Linked DNA regions of Homo sapiens: region 1 is linked to region 2. Evidence: promoter capture Hi-C in human tissues and cell types (Jung and others, 2019). All regions are on one chromosome and are shown on one strand. Each heading gives the region's core, a stretch centred on a gene start or on the middle of the fragment in contact. The rest is flanking DNA. Distances are from core to core; before and after follow the strand shown.

Region 1 (2,700 bases), core at 137-2,636, 1.0 Mb after region 2:
TTTTTTTGAGATGGAGTCTCGCTCTGTCGCCCAGGCTGGAGTGCAGTGGCACTATCTCAGCTCACTGTAAGCTCCGCCTCCCAGGTTCATGCCATTCTCCTGCCTCAGCCTCCCGAGTAGCTGGGACTACCGGCACCCGCCACCACGCTCAGCTAATTTTTTGCATTTTTAGTAGAGATGGGGTTTCACTGTGTTCGCCAGGATGGTCTCGATCTCCTGACCTCGTGATCCGCCCGCTTCGGCCTCCCAAAGTGCTGGGATTACAGGTGTGAGCCACCGCACCCAGCCCAAGAGTCAAAAATATTTTAAGGTCTGCTGTGTGCTTTCCCCAAAAGGAAGGAAACTGTAGGCATCCCACTCCTCCCTCCCAGCAAAGGAGACCAACAGACAAAAAATACAGAATGCTTCTAGGATTTTTTTTTTTAAGGAATAATCTAAATATAAGAAACTATTTCCTTAAAAATCCTGACACTGGAGTTCTGCTACCAAAGACACAGTCAAAGATCTAAATAGCCAGAGTCAAAAAAAAAAAAAAAAAAAAACCCACAAAAGTTTATTTGAGAACAAGAGTGAAAGCTTTTGCACATCTGACAAGGTAGACTTGTTTTACAGTAGATGCCATCCATATTCAGCCCTACCAATACTATCACAAATGAAACATACTATTTCTTACAAAGATATAGGCATAAGTCAAGGACTATGACTAACTAGAGTGAAAGGAAAGGTTAGACCCCAAATCTTATCCCTTAGACCAATCATAACATAGGATGTAAATTAAACCATTCAGTCTTCTAATGTAGTGGTTCTCAACCTGGCTTCTTATCAGAATCCCAGGAACTCTTTTAAAGAAATTCCCAATAACTAGGCTGTACCCCAGTCTCTAGGGATGGGATCCAGGCATGAGTATTTTAAAGCTTCTCAGGTGATTCCAATGTGCAGCCAGACCCTGTCGCAAGTTCACCACAGCACTAGAGGCAGGTAACGATTACTAGCAGATTCCTCAGCCCCAACAAGCCCTCCAAGAAAGGGAGACCTGGTGGGCAACACTGGCTCTCACTGATGCTATCCTTTCACTCCACTTAAGAACGACATAAGTTATCACTTTTGGTATAATTTTGAGACTTTCCATATGCCATGGTGATTTTTAGAGCAATATTTAATCAGGTGAATACCAGCAAAGAGAGAAAATACAGAAAAAGAAATTTCCATAAGGCATGATATGAATAAATAAGTGAAAAAACAATCTCGGGTTTAAAAGTAAAGCATGAGAATTTGAAGCCTGTGAAATTTTATTTATACAAAAGAATAAAAAGTTATTTAAAAAGAACTGATTTAAACTTATGTTTTTCCATTTTTCCTGTTCCTTGAACATGAATCTACTACCAACTCAGAAAGATTTAAGATAGGTAATTACTAAACACTCTTTACCTCCCCTTGCAAAAAACAGAGGCAAGTTTCCCATTTTACTTATGATAAACCAGATTATTTTCAGTTATGAATATTGGCAACTGCATGAAAGAGATGATCAGATATGTCAGCAGGAAAGTATGAGCTGTACAAAGGCATTACAAAAAAACCCCAAAGAAAATAAGATAAAAACAACAAGAGAAAAACAAGAAAACATAAAACAATATAAGAAAATGCCAGATATTTACAGCCTCCATCTGAAATGTGACTTGTGTTCTACTTTCAGCATAAAACAAAACCAGAGAACATTTCTTGAAGGGTATCACAGATGAAGCTGGTGCCAGCCAGTTTTGGGGGAGACATTCATTCTAAGAAGGGAGAAACGCACAGTTAGCAACTTGCTGGGATTACAACATTGTCTTCATCTTCCTGCAGTTCTGTTACTAAAAATGACATAAAGTAAGACCCAATGTCTTACAGAAATGACTTGTTTGTCACCACATTTAGAACAAACTACTCAAAGTCACAGGCACTGGGTCTGGGAGAGCAGAGGTGGATGGCCACGAACTCAGGTGAAGGATGTTTATCTTTGTGAGGTCAGAGAAGGGAAGCAGGGCTCTACAGCCTGGAAGCTTCTGCACTAATGTGTCTTCTAATAGTCCTAAAGAAAGAAAAACAAAAGTCCCAACTTACTCTCGGCAGAACAGTTGTTTGACCCTAAAGGAAAAAAAAAATCTCATAAACAACTCTACTAGGGGACTGCTCTATAGCTAAAGATTATATTTCAGGCCAGGCACAGTGGCTCACACCTGTAATCCCAGCACTTTGGGAAGCCGAGGCAGGGAGATCACGAGGTCAGGAGTTCGAGACCAGCCTGGCCAGCATAGTGAAACCCCGTCTCTACTAAAAATACAAAACATTGGCCAGACATGGTGGTGGGCACCTGTAATTCCAGCTACTCAGGAGGCTGAGGTGGGAGAATCGCTTGAACCTGGAAGGCGGAGGTTGCAGTGAGCCAAGATCGCGCCATTGCACTCCAGCCTGGGTGACAAGAGTGAAACTCTGTTTCAAAAAAAAAAAAAAAAAAAAAGATTGTATTTCAGGCCAGGCGTGGTGGCTCAGGCCTATAATCCCAGCACTTAGGGAGGCCCAGGCGGGCAGATCACTTGAGGTCAGGAGCTCGAGACCAGCCTGGGTAACAAATTAAGACCATGTCTCTACAAAAAACACAAAAATTAGCCAGGTGTGGTGGCTCATGCCTGTGGTCTCAGCTACCCAGGAGTCTGAGGTGGG
Region 2 (2,732 bases), core at 88-2,587:
GTTGTTGTGAGGATGAAATGAGATTATTTTGGTAAAGGCATTTAGCCCTGTGCCTTGCATGGAGTTGGCACTCAGCAACCATAGGTTATTTTCACGAGCCATAAATAGCAGGTCAGCAGCTCACAGAATCCAGCACAGTTCAGTTTTCCCCTCACCCCTGCCTCCCTCACAGCCTGTGTGGTCACACCTCCCAGGACTGCCACCTTGCTTTTGTCTGTGCCACACTGCGCAGTTCCAAAGCCCCCTTTCTGGATCCTCTCCTCCTAACTCCTGGGCCCCCTGGCCCTCCTGTCACTGCGGCCATCTCTGCTGGGCTCTGCAGGTGCTCACTCCTGTGGCCCAGCACAGCTCGATGTCTCCTGGGCTGGCTGCCTTCACATTCCCTCTTTCTGTTTCTCCCTCATCACGCTCAGCCCTCTCCCCTCACACTCTCTTCCCCACTTCACACCCCTCGCTCCCTTGCTGTTTCTACTCTCACCTCGAGATTCTTTCTGTGGGAAGGGTGGGGAGGGAGGAGGGGGCTGGGAATAAACAGAGGGGAGAGGCATTTCCAGATATGCTGCAGATAAAGAAAAAGAGAGAGCAACAGGAAGAGTGACAGAGTGAGGCGGTGACTGAAATCCACACAGACTGAAACGACAGAGAGACTCGCCAAGAGGACGATTGAGGCCAGAGAGATATCGAGAGACAGAGAAAAAGGGCCCAATGTACGCCGACCCAGAGAGTGGGCGGGGGGGGGGCACTCGGAGGCCTGGAGCCCGGGAAGCGTCTGTTACCGAGAGTTTAAGATTCAAGAGATAGCAGGAAATATGCGAGACAGAGAAACTCAGAGAGATAGCAAGCCAGAGAGAAGCTGAGGAGGAAAGATGGAAACAGAGAGTGAAATAGAGACCCAGACGGGGAGGGGTTGCGCGGCTGGAACTCACAGACACACACGTCCTGAGAGACAGAGGCATGGGGAGGGGAGAATGATTATGCCTGTCCCCAGCCCAGCTCAGTGTCCCCAAGGAGATACTTGGCTGTGAGTGACTTCCCTGGTGCAATACCCCCAAAAGTAGGGGCATCCTGTGAAAAGAGACTCAGTGTCCAGGGCTGGGGTTCCAAAGGACGAATCCCGGGCCCCAGGCCTAGGACCCCGGACATGAACACTTGGCAGAGCTGTGGGGAGTGGCCCCAGGATTCCAGCTCTCCATCAAGCCCAAGGCTCAGCCCCTCTCTAGGGATCCCCTACTCACGTTGGCACCTCTGGCCCAGCCCCTGCTTGGCCTCCTTGGTCTCTCTTCTCGTCAAGAGAAGTTCCTGAAACCAGCTGCAGTCCAGCTTCTCTCCCCGAGCTCTGTCGTTAATGGCTCAGCCTCTGACAGGCCCGGGGGCTGGGGATTGCAACACCTTCCGAGCCTCCCTCCTGCCCTCCCTTGCGCCTTCGAGGGCACAGGCAGCCCCTTCCTCCCAGGAAGGAGCCTGTGAGGGAAGCTGGTGAGGCCCGGGCAGCCTTCCTGCCTTGGGGGTCTTAAAGGGCTGGGGAATGTGGCAACGATGTCCCCCTCCCCTGCCTCCGGATTTCCTGAGCTCAAAGCTTTGAGGCTGGGCAGGGCCCAGGCTCCCACCTGGCTGGGTGCCATCCTTATGCCCCCTGCCCTGGGGGAGCATCACTTGGAGGCAGGCCCTGGCTGGAAGGCTCACCCGGCCCTAAGCCTCTTTTCAGCTCTAGCCTTGGGGACCACATCTTCACAGTACTCAGAAGGGTGTGTTCCAGGTTCCAGGGAATTGTGTAACCCAATACTCACTGCTCCCCTCTTCATTACGTATTCTGTGCATTGCCCATAGACCAGGCAGATGGAGAAACAGGAATTCTGGGGGCAAGACAGGAGGACGTCTTGGTGAGGCACGGGGTCTTTATATGTTCACTAAAAATTAGGAATGTTTACCCACAATGGTTCTGCAACACTGAATATTTTGTAATTGAGTGAAATAGACTACATTTTATGTCTTTTATTGTCTGTATTCATGATTCTTCTAAAACTACAAATAATTTTCTTTGCATTTTCTGAGAAAGGTTCAAACTGCTCATAGTTTATTGGATTCATAACCCAAAAAAGGTTAGGTGCCAACAGACCAGCAGACTGTCCTTAACATATAATCCTTTTGAGGCATCTGGGTCTGGTGTGATGCTGCAGACCAGGGCTGTAGTTCTAGTTCCAAGTCAAATGACCTGACTGCCTGCTGCAACCCTCCCAAGATATCCCACAGGCTCTGCTCGCTCAGTGAGTCCCATGGACTCTCTTCTTTCCAAATATAACCAGAATCCTGGGTATTCACTGTAAAGTTCAACTTGGCTCTACGTTTGAATATTTTTATGATAATATTTGGAAAATATAAATATAACTGAAACCAATACTAGCCAGCTCCAAGCTACCCTCATCTATTGCCTAGATAATCGCAATAGCCCCCTGCCTGCTCTCCTGCTTCTATTTCATCCTTGTTCCCGCACCTGTCTGTAATTCCTTCAGCAGCCAGTGCGATATCAATCAAACAGAAGTCTGATCAGCCCATCCTCGTCCCAACCTTTCCAATGGCTCCTGTCTCATTCAGAGTCAAAGTCAAAGCCCTTTGGATGGTCTACAAGGCCCTACAAAACCTGGTATCCCTGTTACCTCCTGGATCCCTCTCCTGTTATTCTCCCCCTTGCTGCCTTGCTCCAGCTACTCTGTGTTCTTTGCTTCTTGAACTTG

Evidence for each region. Contacts are between HindIII fragments. The study calls those that stand out against the background at their distance.
Region 1: a fragment that was not itself captured here is called in contact with the fragment with the promoter of CSF3R in region 2 in 1 of the 25 tissues and cell types used here (dorsolateral prefrontal cortex).

What each region holds. Positions count from the first base shown.
Region 1 is chr1:37,492,040-37,494,739 of GRCh38, forward strand. MEAF6 (MYST/Esa1 associated factor 6) reads right to left here. Exons shown (of 7, transcript NM_001270875.3): 7 at 1-2,068. The coding sequence ends at 2,060. Among named protein-coding and RNA genes, the nearest start is that of MIR5581, 7.6 kb to the right of the region's middle. The HindIII fragment of the contact is 5,415 bases long and covers 1-2,700 here.
Region 2 is chr1:36,481,576-36,484,307 of GRCh38, forward strand. It overlaps CSF3R (colony stimulating factor 3 receptor), which reads right to left and starts at 1,338. Exons shown (of 17, transcript NM_000760.4): 1 at 1,236-1,338. RefSeq lists an enhancer at 1-26. The HindIII fragment of the contact is 11,013 bases long and covers 1-2,732 here.